3 separate regions of the Homo sapiens genome follow, and regions 1 and 2 are each linked to region 3. The links are contacts of gene promoters, found by promoter capture Hi-C in human tissues and cell types (Jung and others, 2019). All regions are on one chromosome and are shown on one strand. Each heading gives the region's core, a stretch centred on a gene start or on the middle of the fragment in contact. The rest is flanking DNA. Distances are from core to core; before and after follow the strand shown. Region 1 overlaps PRPF6 (pre-mRNA processing factor 6). Region 2 overlaps MYT1 (myelin transcription factor 1). Region 3 holds the start of NPBWR2 (neuropeptides B and W receptor 2).

Evidence for each region. The method cuts DNA at HindIII sites, captures the fragments that hold promoters and counts their contacts. A contact is called where the count stands out against the background at its distance.
Region 1: a contact is called between a fragment that was not itself captured here and the fragment with the promoter of NPBWR2 in region 3, in 2 of the 25 tissues and cell types used here (dorsolateral prefrontal cortex and liver).
Region 2: a fragment that was not itself captured here is called in contact with the fragment with the promoter of NPBWR2 in region 3 in 5 of the 25 tissues and cell types used here (H1 embryonic stem cells, lymphoblastoid cells, mesendoderm cells and 2 more).

Annotation. Positions count from the first base shown.
Region 1 is chr20:63,992,082-63,995,065 of GRCh38, reverse strand. It overlaps PRPF6 (pre-mRNA processing factor 6), which reads right to left. Exons shown (of 21, transcript NM_012469.4): 4 at 1,581-1,659; 5 at 1-150. Among named protein-coding and RNA genes, the nearest start is that of PRPF6, 12 kb to the right of the region's middle. The HindIII fragment of the contact is 7,819 bases long and covers 1-2,984 here.
Region 2 is chr20:64,212,576-64,215,592 of GRCh38, reverse strand. It overlaps MYT1 (myelin transcription factor 1), which reads right to left. Exons shown (of 23, transcript NM_004535.3): 10 at 1,946-2,059. Among named protein-coding and RNA genes, the nearest start is that of PCMTD2, 42 kb to the left of the region's middle. The HindIII fragment of the contact is 3,318 bases long and covers 60-3,017 here.
Region 3 is chr20:64,105,936-64,108,865 of GRCh38, reverse strand. It overlaps NPBWR2 (neuropeptides B and W receptor 2), which reads left to right and starts at 1,301. Exons shown (of 2, transcript NM_005286.4): 1 at 1,301-1,502; 2 at 1,944-2,930. The coding sequence starts at 2,035. RefSeq lists an enhancer at 1,253-1,753. The HindIII fragment of the contact is 24,186 bases long and covers 1-2,930 here.

The DNA.
Region 1 (2,984 bases), core at 240-2,739, 110 kb after region 3:
GTTCTCTCCGGTCTGTAAATGTTTGGCAAAGAAACTGTCAGGAACAGGGGTCAGCTTCTCATAGCGTGGGTTCCGCTGACGTTTATTTCTGGCATCGCCAACCTCGGGGATGCTCAGCCACTCTTCTTCTGTGACTTCTGCCAACTTCCTCTGGAAATATCCAGCCCCCAAAAACATTAATTCTCTGACAGAATTTCATGTGCCCAGGTAGGACCATGCCCTCTCTCACCCCTAGCCTCCAGATCACCAAGCTTTAGAAGGGATTTGGATGCAGCAACTGTTTTTTACTTTTGTTTTGAGATGGGTCTCATTCTGTTGCCCAGGCTGGATTCAGTGGCACAATCACAGCTCACTGCAGCCTCAACCTCCCAGGCTCAAGTGATCCTCCCACTTCAGCTTCTCAAGTTGCTGGGACCACAAGCGTGGGCCACCATGCCTGGCTAAGTTTTTATTTTTTGTAAAGACAGGTTCTCCCCAAGGCTGGTCTCAAACTCCTGGGCTCAAGTGATCCTCCCACCTCAGCCTCCCAAAGTGCTGAGATTACAGATGTGAGCCACTGTACCCAGCCCCAAAAATAGTTTTCTACTTCACTTAGAAAAATCAATTTAGGCCGGGCACGGTGGCTCATGCCTGTTAATCCCAGCACTTTGGGAGGCCAAAGCGGGCAGATCACCTGAGGTCGGGAGTTCGAGACCAGCCTGACCAACATGGAGAAACCCCATCTCTACTAAAAATACAAAATTAGCCGGGCATGGTGGCACATGCCTGTAATCCCAGCTACTAGGGAGGCTGAGGCAGGAGAATCGTTTGAACCTGGGAGGCGGAGGTTGCGGTGAGCTGAGATCGCGTCATTGCACTCCAGCCTGGGCAACAAGAGCCAAACTCCGTCTCAAAAAAAAAAAAAAAAGAAAAAGAAAAGAAAAATCAATTTATTGGATCTGTTCAACTTCACTAAAATGTAAATTATTCTCTCAAAGCCCAGGGGACACAGTTTAGAAAATCTTACGTATAAATGGGGCCAGACGTGGTGGCTCACGCCTGTAATCCCAGCCCTTTGGGAGGCTGAGGTGGGCAGATCACTAGAGTTCAGGAGTTTGAGACCAGCCTGGTACACATGGCGAAATCCTGTCTTTACTAAAAATACAAAAATTAGCTGGGTATGGTGGCAGGCACCTGTAATCCCAGCTACTTAGGAGGCTGAGGCACAAGAATTGCTTGAACCTAGGAGGTGAAGGTTGCAGTGAGCTGAGACCACGCCACTGCACTCCAGCCAGGGCAACAGAGCCAGACTGCCTCCAAAAAAAAAAAGAAAAAAGAAAAAAGAAAATCTTAGGTATAAATGGAGTCAAAATTACAAAGAAAATAAGTTCATTTGTCCTACCTTTTACAGTAGGGGAAGGGTTTTTTTTTACACACATATAATTAAACATACTGAAGCAAACACTTTCTTCTTCTAAGCAATGACCCCCTAAATTAAAAACGTAAAGTCTCATAAATTCCACGTAAGAGCAGTCTGAGTCTCTGCGGGTTAGGGTGAGAGCGTTAGAAACCGCACACCATTCACCGCTTCATCGGCTCACCTTGAGGTCTGAGAACTGCTGTTGGATTTTGGGGCGTTCCATACGATATTTCTCTATTTCTTCTTTCTCCCTTTGCTCCCTAGGAAATAAAACATGCACACATCAGAAACACTGCATGTCTGTTCTGAAGCAAATTTATTATCCATCTCAATTAAATCACCAAAAAGAACAATTCCATACTCTTAGTAGCTAAATCAAATATATATATATATATATACATATACACACACACACACACACACACACACACACACACACATTTTTTTTTTTGAGATGGAGTCTTGCTCTGTCACCCAGGCTAAAGTGCAGTGGCGCAATCTCAGCTCACTGCAACCTCCACCTCCTGGGTTTAAGTGATTTTCCTGCCTCAGCCTCCCAAGTAGCTGGGATTACAGGTGCTCGCCACCACTCCCAGCTAATTTTTGTGTTTTTAGTAGAGACGGGGTTTCACCATCCTGGCCAGGCTGTTCTCGAACTCCTGACCTTGTGATCTACCCACCTTGGCCTCCCAAAGTGCTGGGATTACAGGTGTGAGCCACCGCACCCAGCCCAAATCAAATATATTTTAAGGTAACTATGAATACATTCTTAGCTGGGCATGGTAGCACACACCTGTAATCACAGCTACTTGGGAGGCTGAGGCAGAATCATTTGAACCCAGGAGGCAGAGGGTGCAGTGAGCCAAGATCGCACCACTGCACTCCAGCCTGGGCAACACAGAGAGACTCTGCCTCTAAATAAATAAATATAAATACATTCGTAAGTCTACTAATTCAATTATCCACCAAATAAAAACATGTAGAAATTCATTAAAATAAAAAAAAAAGATCTTACTTTGATCTAAATACCTCCATTTGGACATGTGTATATTTACTGCTTGAAAATTCACAAAATCCCAAAGGTAGGACCATCCCATAAACACCTAAGAAGGCCAGGCGTGGTGGCTTACACCTGTAATCCCAACGCTTTGGGAGGCCGAGGTGGGCAGATCACCTGAGGTCAGGAGTTCAAGCCTGGCCAATGTGGTAAAACCCCATCTATACTAAAAATATGAAAATTAGCCAGGCGTGGTGGCGCATGCCTGTTATCCCAGCTACTCAGGAGGCTGAGGTAGGAGAATTGCTTGAACCTGGGAGGTGGAAGTTGCAGGGAGCCAAGATCATGCCATTGCACTCCAGCCTGGGTGACAAGAGTGAAACTTCGTCTCAAAAAAATAAAAATAAAAATAAAAATTAGCTGGGCATGGTGGTGGGCACCTGTAATCCCCAGCTACCTGGGAGACTGAGGCAGGAGAATCATCTGAATCCAGGAAGTGGAGGTTGCAGTGAGCCAATCTAGCCTGGGCGACAGAGCGAGACCTTGTCGCAAAACAAAACAAAACAAAACAAAACAAAAAAACACCTA
Region 2 (3,017 bases), core at 469-2,968, 110 kb before region 3:
TAATAATAATAATAAGCTTAACATTGGTACCACCGTTGATGGCTTCCTTGACCAAGGCTTCAGTCAGAATCTGTACACTTATTGTCCACAATGCCAACGAAGCTTTGCAAAGCCCGTCCTCACACCCCAAAGTTCGATAGCCAGAAATGTGGGCTGGATAGAATCAAAAGGGCCTAACGGGAGGCCTCCTCCACCCTAGCCACAATCTCTCTAGCGTTCAGTGAGTATTCACCATGGGCTGAGGGCGGCAGAGTGTCACTTGAGCCTCATGAGCGACTTAGTTTGTTGTCCTACTTTTATAAGTGAACAAACTGAGGTCATAGTCCCAGGGAGTGCAGTCTCCAAAGTTGGAGCCTGTTTGACACCCCTGCCTGGCCTCACACGGGGGCCAAATCTGCGGTTTGACATTTTATCGGTGATTTAGATCAAAGAGGGAAAGGATTGAATTAGCAACTGACAGGAAGCTGGAGGGAACAGCAAATAAGATAGAGGAAAAAAGCAGCTTCAAACCATTGTGAGAGCCAGCTGGTGGAAAGCAGCCTGCTGGGACCTGCAGGGCTGAAGGTGCCTGTGTGTGGGATGGCAAGCATGCCCACAGAGCAGGAAGGCAAGTCTCTGTGCTCTGCCCAGAGATCCCACGTGTGGGAATTGCACCTTCAGAGGAACACTCTGGAGCAGACCAGGGAAGGGCCTGGGCATGACACAGCCAAGGTGAGCAGCGAAGATCATCTGGCTGGAACTTTGCCAATTATGTGCCAGGAAGGGCCGGGGTCAGGTGGGCCCCGAAAGGAGGCGGACAGTGGAAGGGGCTATGCAGTCATTCACGCTCACCCCAGCCGGGGTCTCCTACACTCTTGTCTGGTGAGACAGATATGGAACAGGGGTCTGAGAGCTGGGGAGGAGGAGCTGTGTGTGAGTTCTAGTTCCTCACGGGAGTGGGGAGCAGGGTGTCTGCAGGTGAAGACAGGAGCAGTGGAAGTGTCCTCTTCGACAGTGGGTACCGTGGTCCAAGGACTCAGCTCCATAGAGGAGAGACTTTGAAGCCAGGCAGGATGGGCAGGGTGGCCTTGGGCAACTCTCTGAGCCTCTGGCCTTATTTGTGGCACTTACTTCTTAGAGCCACATGGAAGGAGGGGACACTAATGGGACACATTCTGAAAGATCCTTATTGATTAGAGCCAAATTTACACATGCACACACACATGGACTTGCACGCACATGTAAACATACTCGCACATATGCGAACACAAACAGGCGTGTGAACATGCACACACACGCTCCCACGTGTTCACATACACATGGACTTGCACGCACATGTAAACATACCCGCACATATGCAAACACAAACAGGCGTGTGAACATGCACACACACGCTCCCACATGTTCACACACACCTACTGTGATCTCAGAACCTCAGGGGCCACAAAGCACTCTGGGGAGCAAAGCCTGCACCCACCCTCTTCCTTGACTTGGGGTCTATCCCTGGGGTCGGGGAGGGACAGGCAGGACGGCCAAGGATTAGTGGCTCATGGTGCTTCCTGGACGTCCGTGGTCCTTGGCTGGTGCAGTCTGCTCTTTCCAGACAGGACCAGCATCTCCACAAATGAATCCCCAAGGGGCCTCAAGTGGTCACATCAGACGACTCCAAGGAGGCAGAGCCCCATGTCGGAGGCAGAGGCAACTGTGCAGGAGTTTGCGCTTTGGCTGAGGCACTGGCGAATGTGGTAGACATGAGACTCTGTCCTGTGTGGCTCCAAAACTGCCCCGCAGTTCTGCTCCTGGGGGGCCCGGGGCATGTGCACACTCACATGCACGTACACTCACATGCACGTACACTCACACACATGCACTCACACACATGCACATACAGCCTGCGGGAGACTGAGAAGCCCTCTGCAGGCATTTGGGAGGCAGCCTCTTCAGTTCTGTGGCTCATCTCACTCACCTGAGGATCCGATCGGAATTGGAGCTACTCTTGGAAGGATCTCCTGTCTGCGGCTGCTGCTTCTCATGGGATTTGGCTAATTTTTCGGCGGCAGCAATGGGACACCCAGACAAACTAGAGGAAGGAAGAGGAGGGGTTTCTGAGCCTTCCCCTCCATGCCTGTCCTGTCCTGGGTGTCTGTGTGTGTGGGTGTCTCACGGCAAGGTCATTCAGATGTGAGAACTCCAGGTGAACTCCAGAGAAGCCCAGAGCCGGGAATAACCCTGTCATTCTGCAGGACAGGGGTTTTCTCTCTGGCTCTGTTCTTGAGCCCTCACAGTACAAGCTGCCCAGTCAGTTTCTGTTTTGGAACATTCTATGCCAAGGACACACAAAGATGAAATATATCCTAAAGGCCTTGAAAGCTCTGGGCAAAGATGCCTCCTCTGCATGGGTCTGGGAGACAGGCTTGCCCTCACCCCCTTCCTCTCCCTTCCCAGCTTGCAGGGCTGGATTCTGCAGCCCTCTCTGGCGCTTGTTCTGTTAGCTGCTCTGGGGCAGCCCAGGGCCCCACTTGGACCACAGCCTGGGCACTGACCCTGGATGACACAGGCCCAGGAAAGTACTCAGTCTAAGACACGGAGGCAGCAGCTTCATCTGTCAGAATAAAGTTAACTGTGAGCTCCAGCGCCAGTCCCTCAGCCAGCCCAGGGAGGTGACGTAATGGGGAACTGGCCTCTTTTCAAATGAAGTGACCTCAAAAGCTCTGGCAGTCCTTTCAGCTGAGCATAAGCCTGCTGGGGGAAAGCATATCCCACCGAGGCCACGGCCACCCATGGCACTTAGGGTAAGGCTGGAGGAGTAGTCCCCCCTCACCATAGAAGACCAGTCAACAACTACACCTCGAGGGTGGTCGGGAAGCTTCACTTCCACCTGGGCCTCAGAACTCCCACAAAGCAGCCCAGAGCACAGTCCTGGCCTGCCGAGGTTACTGTTCATGTCTGCCCTTCCCACTCAGGAGCAAGAGCCAGTGTGCAGAGGTTTTCTGAATGTGGGTAGGACACAAAGTATTCACCTGGCTCTCACATGGTTG
Region 3 (2,930 bases), core at 52-2,551:
TGTCCTAACCAATAGACTTGACAGAGCAACTCTCAGGAAAGAAGGCCGACCATGAGTGTGCGGTGACATCCTTGCAACCCCACAGGCAGCGGGCACAGTCTCGATGGGCAGACACATCTCCCCAGACTGAAAACACACAGTGACCAGGCACGGTGGGTCATGGCTATAACCTGAGCACTTTGGGAGGCTGAGGTAGAGGCTGAAGCTCAGGAGATCGAGACCAGCCTGGGCAACATGGTGAAACCCCGTCTCTACAAAAAAAAACACAAAAATTAGCCAGGCATGGTGGCACATGCCTGTAGTCCCAGCTACTTGAGAGGCTGAGGTGGGAGGATCACCTGAGCCCAGGGAGGTCAGGGCTGCAGTGAGCCATGATAGTGCCACTGCACCCCAGCCTGGGTGACAGGGCAAGACCCTGTCTCAAAAAAGAAGAAAGGAAAGAAAACACAGACCCTCTGACCCAACACGTCTCCGCTGAGGAGCGGCTCTGAGACTGGCGACTGCTCGTGTCAGCTGTGGCGTTGCCTGCAAAGCAGGTCCAGATGCGGCCGAGCTGCACACACACGGGTTGGATAAGCCAGGGTGCGTCCAGCAAGGAAGAAAAGCAGGGAGAAGGGAAGGACTTAAAGACCAACCCAGAGCAGAGTGTGATGCTCACCACCTCTGCAGGACGGCGGGAGAGTTACGTGTCAGCGTGAGAACGTCTTCTCTGCAGCCTTTCACAGCTTGCCTAGGCTGAGTTCCTCTTTTAGCAAAAGACAAAAAAAGAAGGTGGGTTGCCTATGGCCAACAAGTTCTGCTTCCACATGAGGGCATACAGACCCCCCAGATGCCCACACTCAGCCAAGGACATGTAGACCCACTCAGATACAACGCAGAGCTCACCCACAGAGACCCCCATACAGGCAGACACAGGCCCACACACGTACATGTCCTAACTGGCACACACACACAGGAACACACCATGTACACACACAGGGTGGGGCAGGAGACCCACCAAGACACCCATGTTCACAGATAAGGGTGCCCAGGCCCACAGTGACTCCCGGACAGAGGCACAGATGCCTTCAGTGCCCTCTGCCCGAAGACCTGGGCACACCCAGAGGCCCCTGCATGGAGTCCCTTCCTGACACACAGGCGCACACGTGCCTCAGCCGCCCACTGAGGAGTCTGCCTGGGTAAGTGAATGCTGAGGAGACCCTGGGACAGCCGACTGCAGGCGCTACTGCAGCTCAGGGGAAGGTGGGGCCTGCCTTCCGGGCTCCACGTCAGCAAGGGGGATCCGCCTCCCTCCCTCACCAGCATCAGCACTGACACCAGGCTGGGAACCTCGCAGCCGGGGCTGAGGCAGCCAGCAGGGCAGGTCTTGAAACTCCTGAAACCTCAGCTGGAGGTCTGTCAGTGAGGACCACACCTCGCCCTCCATCCCTGCGACTGCCTGTACTGGCCAAAACCAGGAACACACCAAGGCTACCAACTTCTGGACTCGAAGCACTGGACAGGTCAGTGGAGAGAAGAGTAGCTGGACCAGCAGGGTCTGCAGCATCTCTCGGGAGGGTGTGAGGGAGGGTGCAGACTCCAAGACCCCTGAGGGAAGGACCTTCAGATTCAAGGGAGCCAGAGATGAGCTTGGGAGGTGTGTTTCCAAAGGGACCGCTTGATTCTACGCAGCCCGTGCATCTGCGGGTTGCTGGGGCAGGGACGGATCCACATCTCTTCCCAGGAGGGTGGCCAGCAGCTGCTCTCTGCGGGAGGAGGGAACTGATCTGCTGAAGTCTCACCAGGAAGAGGCGGGAGGAGGCCCCCACACACCCCACCAGGCTCCCTCTGGCCCCATGTCCTTGACCTGGCAAAGTGGCCGCAGTCTCTGCCAGAGAACCTGGAGTGGCTGTGCCCTAACAGACGGCCGGATCTCAAAGTCTCTGGTTGTTTTTCTTTCCTAGAATCCAGCCCAAGGAGGCCCCCAACCAGATACCCAACTCCAAGGCACCTCCCACCTGCCCAGGGCGCAAATCGTCAACGGTCCCAGCTACAATGCAGGCCGCTGGGCACCCAGAGCCCCTTGACAGCAGGGGCTCCTTCTCCCTCCCCACGATGGGTGCCAACGTCTCTCAGGACAATGGCACTGGCCACAATGCCACCTTCTCCGAGCCACTGCCGTTCCTCTATGTGCTCCTGCCCGCCGTGTACTCCGGGATCTGTGCTGTGGGGCTGACTGGCAACACGGCCGTCATCCTTGTAATCCTAAGGGCGCCCAAGATGAAGACGGTGACCAACGTGTTCATCCTGAACCTGGCCGTCGCCGACGGGCTCTTCACGCTGGTACTGCCCGTCAACATCGCGGAGCACCTGCTGCAGTACTGGCCCTTCGGGGAGCTGCTCTGCAAGCTGGTGCTGGCCGTCGACCACTACAACATCTTCTCCAGCATCTACTTCCTAGCCGTGATGAGCGTGGACCGATACCTGGTGGTGCTGGCCACCGTGAGGTCCCGCCACATGCCCTGGCGCACCTACCGGGGGGCGAAGGTCGCCAGCCTGTGTGTCTGGCTGGGCGTCACGGTCCTGGTTCTGCCCTTCTTCTCTTTCGCTGGCGTCTACAGCAACGAGCTGCAGGTCCCAAGCTGTGGGCTGAGCTTCCCGTGGCCCGAGCAGGTCTGGTTCAAGGCCAGCCGTGTCTACACGTTGGTCCTGGGCTTCGTGCTGCCCGTGTGCACCATCTGTGTGCTCTACACAGACCTCCTGCGCAGGCTGCGGGCCGTGCGGCTCCGCTCTGGAGCCAAGGCTCTAGGCAAGGCCAGGCGGAAGGTGACCGTCCTGGTCCTCGTCGTGCTGGCCGTGTGCCTCCTCTGCTGGACGCCCTTCCACCTGGCCTCTGTCGTGGCCCTGACCACGGACCTGCCCCAGACCCCACTGGTCATCAGTATGTCCTA